Regions from separate parts of the Homo sapiens genome. Here regions 1, 3 and 4 are each linked to region 2. The links are contacts of gene promoters, found by promoter capture Hi-C in human tissues and cell types (Jung and others, 2019). All regions are on one chromosome and are shown on one strand. The core of a region is centred on a gene start or on the middle of the fragment in contact, and the rest is flanking DNA. Distances in the headings are between cores, read along the strand shown. Region 1 holds the start of SF3A1 (splicing factor 3a subunit 1). Region 2 holds the start of GAL3ST1 (galactose-3-O-sulfotransferase 1). Region 3 overlaps MTFP1 (mitochondrial fission process 1). Region 4 overlaps SEC14L2 (SEC14 like lipid binding 2).

Region 1 (2,700 bases), core at 108-2,607, 220 kb after region 2:
AATAACAACCATGACACACAGCTACGATGTGTGTGGGGGGAGGGGGAAGACTTGAGAGAGCAACCTTTCCTATCACTCCCTCATTTCACAGGTGAGGAAACTGAAGTCCAGGAACAGGTTCGGAGCCAGCTCCCCGCTTTCCAGAGTTGAGGAGAGGAGGAAGGAGAGAGGGGGGAATCGCAGGAGAGGGAGAGAAGCCGGCGGGATTCGAGGTAGGCCTCTGGGGAGCGAGCCGCATAGCTTGCAGGGCTGCATCTGTGAGAGTGAGGGGTGAAGCCTAAAGCAGCAGCCCTGCGTGATGGCTCATGCGTGTAATCCCAGCACTTTGGGAGGCCAAGGCGGGAGGATCGCTTGACCCCAGGAGTTTGAGACCAGCCTGGGCAACATAGGGAGACGTCCTCCCATGTCCCTACAAAAAAAAAAATTTAAAAACTGGCCGGGCGCGGTGGCTCACGCCTGTAACCCTAACACTTTGGGAAGCCGAGGCGGGCGGATCATTTGAGGTCAGGAGTTCCAGACCAGCCTGGCCAGCATGGTGAAACCCCGTCTCTACTAAAAATGCCAAAAAAAAAAAAAAAAAAATTAGCCGGGTGTGGTGGGCGCCTGTAGTCCCAGCCACTCGGGAGGCTGAGGCAGGAGAATCGCTTGAACTCGGGAGGCGGAGGTTGCAGAGAGTCAAGATCGCGCCACTGCACTCCAGCCTGGGTGACAGAGCAAGACCTTGTCTCAGAAAAAAAGAAAAAAGAAAGACAAAGAAAGCAGCAGCCTTGATTTGAGAGGGAGGCCCCCAGTGGGGCTTGAGGGCGGGACTACGGAAGGCAGGGGATGGAAGCAAGAAAAGGCAGGTTCCGTGGGAAAAGCGAATTAAGGGCGTAGGATTTGGAAGCGGGGCTTGGAGGATGTGGGTCTGAAATGAAAGGGGGGACTAAGGGAGTAGGGAAGTGGGGCTCTTAGGCGGTGAGCCTGAGGGGACAGGGGCTCTCCTAAATGAGAGACCAATGGGAGGGAGCTGGGCTCTTGGAAGGCGGGGTCGAAGGGAGCGAGGTACTGGCCTGTGGAGTAAAGGAGCCGCGAGGTGAGTGCGGCGGGGGTCCGGCGGGTGACGTACAACATCTCACCTGTCTTCGGCGTCGCGGCTTCAGCCTTCGTGTCTGGTCGGCTCCCGGAACTGCCCCCGGTGCGCCTGCGGCCACCGGGATCCCCGAAAAGCCCTAGCCGGGCGCTCAGGCCGCTGCCTTGGCAACGGCGTCGGACGCCGCGGTGCCCGCGGGGAGGGGCGGGAAGCGCGTCACGGCGAGGGGACGGTCCCGGAAGTGCGCCAGTCGTACCTTCGCGGCCGCAACTCGCTCGGCCGCCGCCATCTTGCGAGCTCGTCGTACTGACCGAGCGGGGAGGCTGTCTTGAGGCGGCACCGCTCACCGACACCGAGGCGGACTGGCAGCCCTGAGCGTCGCAGTCATGCCGGCCGGACCCGTGCAGGCGGTGCCCCCGCCGCCGCCCGTGCCCACGGAGCCCAAACAGGTACCTCTCCCCCGCCCCTCAGCCTGCAGCCGGAGGGTTGGCCTGGGCGCTCCTTACTCGCACAGGAATAAGCGGCCGGCCGCTATGAAGGGCTTGGAGGGACTGCAAGTCCCAAGAGGCTGCGCGCTTCCCGCGCTATGGTGGTGTTCTGGTAGCGAAATGAGCCACCCTGAACGGGATTCTCTAAGTGGTCCGCGGAGCAGCCCCGTCGGCACGAGCCGGGAGCTTCTTAGAAATGTGGAGTCTCCGCCGTAGATCTTTTAAATAGGAATCTACATTTGAACAAAATCCTAAGGTGATTGATTTATAAGTGCGAGAGGCGCTGATCCAGCCCATCCTCTGATCTTATGTAGCAGTTGGGGCCGCCGGCCACAGCCTTTCCCCAGTAATGGCTAATTTCCCAGCCTGCACGGTACATCTTTGGATGTTAATTCTCAGCATCTATTTCGGTGTCTGCCCCAAGCCAGACACCGTGCCAGGCTCCCACATTACCGGAATGAATGGGGCATGGTCCCTGCCTAGGGAGCTCACAGGCTAACGAGAAGACAGACATATGAGAATGCTCACCAAATGTTTGTTGTCCCAATGGCCATCGATGATACAGTGCCAGCCCGCCCTTAATAAAGCTCTCCAATCTCGAATGTGCACAAACCATTGTAGTATGGTGTGATATGCCCTGTGATAGAAGTTTCAGGTACAAATCTAATGAACATTGTTTGCTGGGCTAGAAGGGATATTAAGGTAGGGAAGCCCACAAGAGTGAGAGGTAAATTTCTTTTAGAAGAAGGAATAGGAGTTTGCCAGGTAGGTGACTAGGGAAGGGAAATAGCATCCTTTATTCATCCAGCAAATATTTATTGAACACATACGCTGATCATTGCTTTGGGTTCAGAATAAGGGGGGCGGGGGGGGGGAACATGACTGAAGAAGCCATGCCTTTTCCACAAATATTTAAGTGCCCGTGTGTCCCTGGCATTTTCCCAGGCATTGGGGGAAAATAAGGTAATAGCCAGATAATATGCGCAAAGACACCGAGGTGAATCAAACGGTGTCTCTGATCAAGAGTAAATGAACAAGTGTTGAAGCATAGACTTAGGAGCGTAGTGGCAGGAGATGCGATTCTTACTTAGGATTTGAACTTTTCCTTGTAGACAGTGGGAAGAAAAGGGAGTGTTTTAA
Region 2 (2,700 bases), core at 69-2,568:
ATGGAGCCAGGACCACAACCTGGGTCTCCCAGTGCTCACTCAGCCCCTCCCAGGACTCACTTCCCGGGGTGAGTGCTGTCGAGGGTTGGGGCCACGCTGAGGAAGTGTGGGTTTGGAATGGCTCTACTTTCCCTGAATCTAGGCACCTGAGGGCCTTGCCCTCTGCCTCTCACTGTTTGCTGGCTGTGTGGGCAGAGAATGTTTTTGTGGCAGTGGATGTAGGTCCAACCTGTGCAGGGGGAAGGCAAGAGCTTGGGCAGGCTCTGGCCTGGGGAGCAGAAAACCTAGGGCTCCCCCTCTCAGCTGGGACTGGCTGTGGGTGGAAGGAGAGGGCTGTGTGCCATTCCCACTCTGTCATGCACACGGCGATGGGAGGGAGTGAGGTTGCCTCCAGAGGCTGGGACAGAGGGTCAGGACCTCTGGAGCCAGAGCCTGCAGCCCCGGGAGACAACTCAGGCCTGTCTGGGGAACTGTGCATCCAGGGCCACACGGCTAGAGCGCAGGCCCATCAGATACGGAAAAATTCCTGGCAGCCATGCTGATGTGGAATTTTCCCCATTCCAGAATCGCCCAGTAATGGCGGGGGCAGTGGGGCTCTGACGCATCCCAGGCCCCACTGGGTGGCCAGCTGGTTCCTTACTGCCCACAGCTGGCGCTGAGGATTCCTGGCCCCTGGCAGGCATTGGTCCTCATCCATGGTCTTGCTCCTCTGGGGTGAAGAAGGAAAGGCCAGGCCTGGAAAATGAGACAGGGCCTGGATGGGACACCTGCCTCCTGGTGGCCTTGCTCAGCCCTCATTGGCACCCTAGAGAGTGACAGCTGAGACCTCCAGGTGACAGGACCAGTTGGAGCTCAGTCTCTTGCTTGAGCTCCCTCCACTCCCATGAGTGCCAAAAATGTGTCGTCCCCAGTTGGCACTGACTAGAGCAAGAAGCCGTATGATCCATTGGATCCTAAGGGCCCCAGGACCCCCCAACCAAAGTTAAGCAATAGTCCGTCCGCCGCCTTTTTCCCAGAGCCCTGGCTCCCCTCCCCACCACCACCAAGCCTGGGCATCCTCAAGTCTTCTGGGCTGGGGGCTCCGTTGAGCCAGAGGACCGGGGCGGGACAATGGCCCCGTTGGCGCGTCCGAGACAAACGGGCCTTGTTGGGCCGGCGGCGGGGGCGCAGCGTTGCGCCCCAGCGCGCTGAATGCGGCTTCTGTGCGTCTCGGGCGGGCGCAGAGGGGCCGGGATGGGGCGGGGAGGGGGCCGGCCCGGGGCGGGGAGGGGTCTGGGGTCCGGGGCGTCCATTGGCCCCGGCGCCGGAGGCTGGGCCAGGCTGGCGGCGGCACCTGGCCGGGAGCGGGCGCGGCGCGGGAGCGGGCGCGGCGCGGCAGCGGCGGCGGGGGCGGGGGCATGGACCAGGCCTGGTGGAGCGGGGGGCCCGGCCGGGTGCGCCCCGCCGCCCAGTGAGCGCCCGGGCGGCGCGGCCCGGGCCGAGCCAGCCACGCTGAGGCGGAGGAGGACGGGGACAAGGTACGTCCCGGGCTCCAGCACCCACTGCCAGCTTGAGCCCTGCCTCAGTCTACTCCCTGGGGATACCGCCCACATTACGCTAACCCCCAAACTGGGACCACGCGCCGGAGGAGGGGAGTAGGAGTGCAGTACCGCTGTTCTAAGCGCTGGGTACCCCTGCCCACTGCCAGAGGGTGGCCTGGTAGGGGCCAGGGAGGGCACAGGTTGGTGCCCCCCATGCCCTTGGTTTTTTCCCCTGTCCCCCAACCCCCCTTCCAGGGCTTCCCAGTCCCTGAAGGTGGGATGGGTGGGGCAGAAGGCAGGCTGCTGGGGCTGAGCTGGAGCTGGGAGTGCGTTAATGATTAATCTTGGACACAGTGGCCAGAGCCCTAGGGGAGGAGGGGCAGAGATCTCCCCTGTCTCCATCAGCCCTTCCTAGAAAGGGGATCAGAGCAGGAACCGGAGACCATAGTAAGGGATGGATCCCCTCTGCTGGGGGAAGGCCCTGGCCTGTACCCCAGAGGAAGCAAAGCCACCAAGGAGAGGTTTGGGAGAGTGGGACAAACCCTGGCATCCAGGAGGGGTCCTATAGGAAATCCTACAGTTCCTGTTTCCTAGCCCAGTGCCCAGGAAGGGGGTCCAGCTTGATCTGCCCCTTCGGTGCCAGGCCAGCATTTTGGTACCAGCACAGAGCACACTACAGACCGAGCCCTGCCCAGTGGGAACTGCCCCGCCCAGCTGCCCAGAGCCAGAGAGGTGATGGGCATGTCTGGCTGCTGTAACCCACACCAGGGGGAAGGAAAGGGAGAGAAGGCAGCATGCCTGACACCTGATCCCCGGGCTGCCGCGGTGACAGGTGCATGAGAATCCTCCAGAGGGGAGAGAGGTGTAGAGGACTGTCCATTCCAGTTGGGAAAACCCAATCTCTTCCTTTACTGACGGGGTGACCTGAGGCCCAGAGAGGGTGAGGCTCATCCAGGCCCACACAGGGGGCACAGGAGGGCAGTCCTGGACCAGAGCAGTCACTGTGTACGCACTGTTCCTTGTCCTGTGAAGGAGGCATTGCTACCTATCCCCATTATCCAGAGGGGGATACTGAGGCTCAGGGAAATTCAATGACTTGTCCAAGGTCACATGGCTCAGAGGTAGCTGAGCTGACTCCAAATCATAGGAGTCTTGCCCTGGCCCCCATTTCAGGACCCCA
Region 3 (2,700 bases), core at 133-2,632, 150 kb after region 2:
GACTGCACCTGGGCTGCAAGGGATGGGGCCAGGGTCTTGGTGGGAGCTGATTTGGTGCTTGGGGCAGGGCTGAGAGGGGCCCAGGTCTGCTTCAGCCCTGTGCTCCCACCTCTCTACCTCTCTGAGCTGTTGAGGGGGATGGCCCAGGATCAGAGGAATGGCCCCCTCTAGCACTCTCGAGCCCAGCAGCTCAGGGGAAGCCACAAGGAAAACAGGCCATTCCCTGATTCTGAGTGTAAGAAGCCCCCTGGTCACTTCCTTCTCCAGGCTGCCGAGTCCCCTCATGAGGAGGTCTCATGTGACCCTCATATGGGGCTGACACCACCATCTTGGCCACCTTCAGGCTCAGGTGGTATCTGCCCAACAGGCTCCCCTCCCAGAGGGGTTGGTGCTTTAGGAGGCTAGAAAAAGAGGGCAATGCCAGGCTGAGTGCAGTGGCTCATTCCTATAATCCCAGCAGTTTGGGATGCTGAGGTGGGAGGATTGCTTGAGCCCAGGCATTCAAGGCCAGCCTGGGCAACATAGGGAGACCCCCATCTCTATTAAAAGTAAGTAAGTAAAGGGTAATGCCTACCCCAAAGGAGGCTGGCAGCACCAACGTGGGATGCCAGGCACCTGCAGGGAAGCACTAATGGGCGGGGAGACTGCTACCCATCCCTCCTCCCCACCACCACATCCCTGCTCCTCCCAAACAGAAATGAAGACATAACAACCTCTTCAGGATTTATTGGGTCAGGGAAGGGCCTGGCCAGAGAATCTGTCCTGAGGTGTCCCTGGTACTGCACTCCTGAGTTTCTCCCTGAGTTGTCTGCCGCTCCTTGTTCAGCCATACCACCATGGGGTGACTCTGTCAAGCACCTGGGGGTCCTGGGTGCCCAGCTTGCCAAGTGATCTTGGGCCTATTCCTTGCCCTCCCTGAGCCTCAGTCTCTCATCCTCCATGGGAGGATGTAATTTTCCTGAAAAAGACAGGGCCGGGCCCACCCAGGGTCCACTTCCACTCAGCATCTTGGATTCCAGGGAAGCAGACAGCGTTCAGGTCCTGCCCTTCTGTGACTCCCTGCAGCCACTGCTTCTTGAAGCCTTTGTCTCTAAGCTTCTGTCCAGCTCAAACCCACCCAGGTGCCAGGGTCTTTGGACACCAGGGAGCCAGGTGTCCACATTCCCTGGCAGGAGTAGGAGGTTGACATGAAGCAGGAGGCCGATGCACAGGCCAGGTACCAGAGTATGATCAGGAGGAGCTGGGCTTCCCCACTGTTGGGTAGAGCTTGCGCAGGCTGGAGTCCAGGAGGAAATCCACCGACCTGTAGGGAGTGGAAGGGTGGTGAGCAGGTGACCAAGGGTGTTCATGAGGGAACAGAAGGCAGAAGGCCAGGGTTAGGGAAAGGGGCGCTTAGATGCAGGATACAAATGCCATCCAGCCAGAGACCCACCCTTATCCTGATCCTTCCACCTTGGGCTACCTGGGGAAGCTAGAATCAAACTCCCAGAATAGAAGCCATCCTCTTCTTTATTCAGGAGGAAACTGAGGTACTGGGTAAAAGACTTGCTCAGGGCCTCAGGGTCAGCTATCTTCTCCTGGAGAAAGACTGCTCCTCTCACTCTTACATTGGTCTGGTTGGGTTGAGCCCATATCTAGTTCTAAGACCAAGCACGTGACCCAAGCCTGGCCAATCAGCAAAGGGAAACTGGCTCATAGGGTGGGCATGCAGTCCAGAATGGACCAATGACACCCTTCCTTGGGATTTTTGTTGTTACTGTTTAAAAGCTTCTGCTGGGGGAGGCTAAGCTGGTGGGATAGAACTTGGGAGCTGCTAGGGCCATTTCTACTCCCACAAGGAGAAAGCAGGTGAAGCCAGCAAGAAATAGGGTGGGGTGGGGAGAAAGGCAGCAGGATGGGGAGACCCAGACCCCTAATGACATAATTTGGGTACCTAGATCTAGCCATGCCTGAATGCAACACAGCCCTGGACTTTTACTCCATTTTATTCAAATATTCAGTTTGAGTTAGGCTTCTGTCACCAATACCTCCCAAAATGCATCCCCTCTAGGGTGCACCTGCTCCTGCTTCTCTCTGGTTGTTTTGTAACACTAGACTTTCTTTCTGGGAATTTACTTGTCCTGTGTCCCATACCCTCAACGCACCCCTCTTCTTTTATTGCTAAAGTGCCTGCCATACCATATGACAAGGGTACAGGCTGTCCTTTCTAACCCAGGAGCCAAGTGCCAGCCTTGTCCCTGCTATTGCTCCAGCAAAGTGGGCATACCCCACACTTCACAGAGTCTAGCTCTACCTGGAGACTGGATGATCCACTCTCATCACTGGAGAGTGGATGATCCCTGAGGCCAAGAAGGTACCCACCTGTCAATGGGGTGGATAATGATGGGGATGGTCAACAGCCCAAGCGCGGTGGTGGTCCACTTGCGGACAGCCAGGGGCCAGCGGGTGGCAGTGCCCAGGACATAGAGAGAGGCAGCACACACGCGGTTGATGGTGAAGCCCGGAATGGCCACAGAGGCTAGAGCCTGCCATACAAAGGTGTCCACCACAGCCACAGTCACCCTGGCGCTGCGGCCTGCTTCAGGGCTGGGCACCTGGTGGGCGCAGAGACACTTAATCCAGCTGGGGCAGAGGCAGAAAATCCTGCGACAAGGGGCACGAGGCTAGACCGGGAGGGGCAAGTGGCCAGTGGACTTGTCC
Region 4 (2,700 bases), core at 89-2,588, 170 kb after region 2:
ACCCACCTGCTTCTAGCTGCAGCCCTTTAGCAAATGCTGGGCCAAAATTTCCTCCAGCCTGAACTGATTCCACTGCCGCCCCCACACTACCCCTCCACCATCTCTGGGCGGTGGACTGGGGTAGGGGGATGGTATGGAAGCTTTTTTGGGGAAAGGGGCAAGTGACACTTCCAGAGGCTCCTGGATGGATCTGCCCTCAGATGTTTACAAGCAGCCTCTCAGGAGCGTGCCAGCTCTGTGAAATTTCTGGAAAGAAAAGGAAAATACATCTCTTCATCTGCCCCAAGACTCCTAGGGTGTGCATGTGCATGTCTTTATGTGTCCATAAAGAAATAATAGGGCCAGTCACAGTGGTGTGTACCTGTAGGCCAAGCTACTCGGGAGGCTGAGGTGGGAGGATCACTTGATCCCAGGAGTTTGAGGCCAGCAAGACCCTGTTTCAAAAGTAAAAATAGGCCAAGGCGGATGGATCATGAGGTCAGGAATTCGAGACCAGGCTGGCCAACATAGTGAAACCCCGTCTCTACTAAAGATACAAAAAAAAAAAAAATTAGCCGGGCGTGGTGGCGCATGCCTGTAATCCCAGCTACTTGGGAGGCTGAGGTAGGAGAATTGCTTGAAACTGGGAGGTGGAGGTTGCAGTGAGCCGAGATCGCACCATTGCAGTCCAGCCTGGGCGACAGAGTGAGACTCTGTCTCAAAAAAAATAAAAATAATAAAAATAAAAATATAAAATAAAAATAACAGCCAGGTGTGGTGGCTCACGCCTGTAATCCTAACACTTTGGGAGGCTGAGGTGGGCAGATCACCTGAGGTCAGGAGTTTGAGACCAGCCTGGCCAACATGGTGAAACCCTTAGCCGGTGTGGTGGTGGGAGCCTATAATCCCAGCTACTCAGGAGGCTGAGGCAGAAGAATTGCTTGAACCTGGGAGGTGGAGGTGGCAGTGAGCCGAGACTGCACCATTGCACTCCAGCCTGGGCAACAGAGCAAGACTCCATCTCTAAATAAATAAATAAATAAATAAATAAATAAATAAATAAATCACTTGAGACCAGGAGTTCAAGGCAGCAGTGACCTACGATCATGCCCATTGCCTGGGCAGCAGAGTGAGACCCTGTCTCAAAAAAAGAAATTAAAATTAAAATAATAGGGCATAATTTGTACTTTAATATTTTAGGATATGATTCTATACCACACTTTGGGAGGCCAAGGCAGGCAGATCACTTGAGGCCAGGAGTTCGAGACCAGCCTGGCCAACGTGAAACCTAGGTCTCTACTAAAAAGAAAAAAAAAAAGGTAACCTTCTTTTTTTTTTTTTTTTTTTTTTTTTTTTTGAGACGGAGTCTCCCTCTGTCACCCAGGCTGGAGTGCAGTGGCGAAATGTCAGCTCACTGCAACCTCCACCTCCCGGGTTCAAGCGACCCTCCCACCTCAGCCTCCTGAGTAGCTGGGATTACAGGTGCCCGCCACCATGCCCGGCTAATTTTTGTGTTTTTTAGTAGAGGTGGAGTTTCACCATGTCAGCCAGGCTGGTCTCGAAGTCCTGGCCTCAAGTGATCTGCCCGCCTAGCCTCCCAAACTGCTGGGATTACAGGCGTGAGCCACCGCACCTGGCCATAATGGAATTTTCTTTATTATTTCTATGTCTGTTAATAAAATTTCTATATAGAGGGGAAAAAAAGTGTCAGAAGAATCAGGGAGGGTGGCACATGACCTGAATCACAGGAAAGGAGAGGAGGGGAAGGAATGGAAACATCTCAGGGATTGGGGCACCAGGCTGAATTTGACCCTCATGCCAGTAGAAATGTGTGCATTTCAACACCACATGCAGAGTTCTGTCATGTCACGTCTTGCAGCAGGCAGGTCTTGTCCTGCTCTTCCAGAGGAGGATCCTAGGGAAGTATTTACCCTGAACAAGGCACCACAGCCAGGCTGGGGAAGAGCTGGAACCAGGACCTGGGCTCTAGAGCCTGGTGGTGGTTTGAGGAGACTCTTGTCACTCTAGGTCAGGCTGTGCCCCTCAGGTTCCCCATGCACTCTGCCCCTCCCTCAAGTTGCCTAAACTGTGGTCTGCAGGGACCTGCCATCACACTAGGGCATAGCAGGGGCCAGGACTCTGGTTCTACACTTGGCTCTGCCTCCGACCCCCCACATGGCTGGGGCCTTTCTCACTTTTTCTTCAGCCAATTTCCCCAACTCCATCAGCAGAGCAGATTTCTTGAGTAGATGGAAAAGGCTGTGGGCCAAGGGTCAGCCGACCTGGACTCTCCCCTTTTCTCTGCCTGCAGTTCGCTCACTGTGTGGCTTGGAACAAGTCACTTGACCTCTCTGAGCCTCAGTGTCTTTATCCACTAGGAGGGTTGAGCTTATGTCATTGCCAAGGGCCCTTTGGCGCTAAAGGTTGGACACTCTAGATGCCTCAATTGCCAAGGGCAGGGTTTTCAGAGGGTGCTATTCTGTTGCCCAGAACAAGCCCCTGCCCCAGCCTCCCGCAGCCCCTCTTCCCTCACCTCGGAGCCAACGCAGGAGAAAATAGTCATCTGGATTCGGCAGGGCCGGCAGCACATCCTGGACATTCTCCCGAAACTGTAGGGAGAGGCATCGGGGTGAGTGGTAGGGCCCGCCCTGACTGCTGCCCTCTGCCTAGGACTCTCCACTGAGATCTTTGCTGGACGCCTCTTTCTTTGTTTCTTTTTTT

Evidence for each region. Contacts are between HindIII fragments. The study calls those that stand out against the background at their distance.
Region 1: a contact is called between the fragment with the promoter of SF3A1 here and the fragment with the promoter of GAL3ST1 in region 2, in 1 of the 25 tissues and cell types used here (heart left ventricle).
Region 3: a fragment that was not itself captured here is called in contact with the fragment with the promoter of GAL3ST1 in region 2 in 1 of the 25 tissues and cell types used here (dorsolateral prefrontal cortex).
Region 4: a contact is called between a fragment that was not itself captured here and the fragment with the promoter of GAL3ST1 in region 2, in 2 of the 25 tissues and cell types used here (adrenal gland and dorsolateral prefrontal cortex).

The regions. Positions count from the first base shown.
Region 1 is chr22:30,355,551-30,358,250 of GRCh38, reverse strand. SF3A1 (splicing factor 3a subunit 1) reads left to right here and starts at 1,357. Exons shown (of 16, transcript NM_005877.6): 1 at 1,357-1,521. The coding sequence starts at 1,459. CCDC157 (coiled-coil domain containing 157) reads right to left here and starts at 1,244. Exons shown (of 12, transcript NM_001017437.5): 1 at 1,119-1,244. RefSeq lists an enhancer at 1-475 and a silencer at 1,411-1,660. The HindIII fragment of the contact is 21,616 bases long and covers 1-2,700 here.
Region 2 is chr22:30,573,283-30,575,982 of GRCh38, reverse strand. GAL3ST1 (galactose-3-O-sulfotransferase 1) reads left to right here and starts at 1,318. Exons shown (of 4, transcript NM_001318104.2): 1 at 1,318-1,517. RefSeq lists enhancers at 1,398-2,078, 2,079-2,700. The HindIII fragment of the contact is 15,540 bases long and covers 1-2,700 here.
Region 3 is chr22:30,427,065-30,429,764 of GRCh38, reverse strand. MTFP1 (mitochondrial fission process 1) reads right to left here. Exons shown (of 4, transcript NM_016498.5): 3 at 2,362-2,594; 4 at 711-1,303. The coding sequence ends at 1,231. Among named protein-coding and RNA genes, the nearest start is that of MTFP1, 2.6 kb to the right of the region's middle. RefSeq lists an enhancer at 2,618-2,700. The HindIII fragment of the contact is 3,204 bases long and covers 1-2,700 here.
Region 4 is chr22:30,399,531-30,402,230 of GRCh38, reverse strand. SEC14L2 (SEC14 like lipid binding 2) reads right to left here. Exons shown (of 12, transcript NM_012429.5): 2 at 2,513-2,588. Among named protein-coding and RNA genes, the nearest start is that of SEC14L2, 3.9 kb to the right of the region's middle. RefSeq lists an enhancer at 1-440. The HindIII fragment of the contact is 5,754 bases long and covers 1-2,700 here.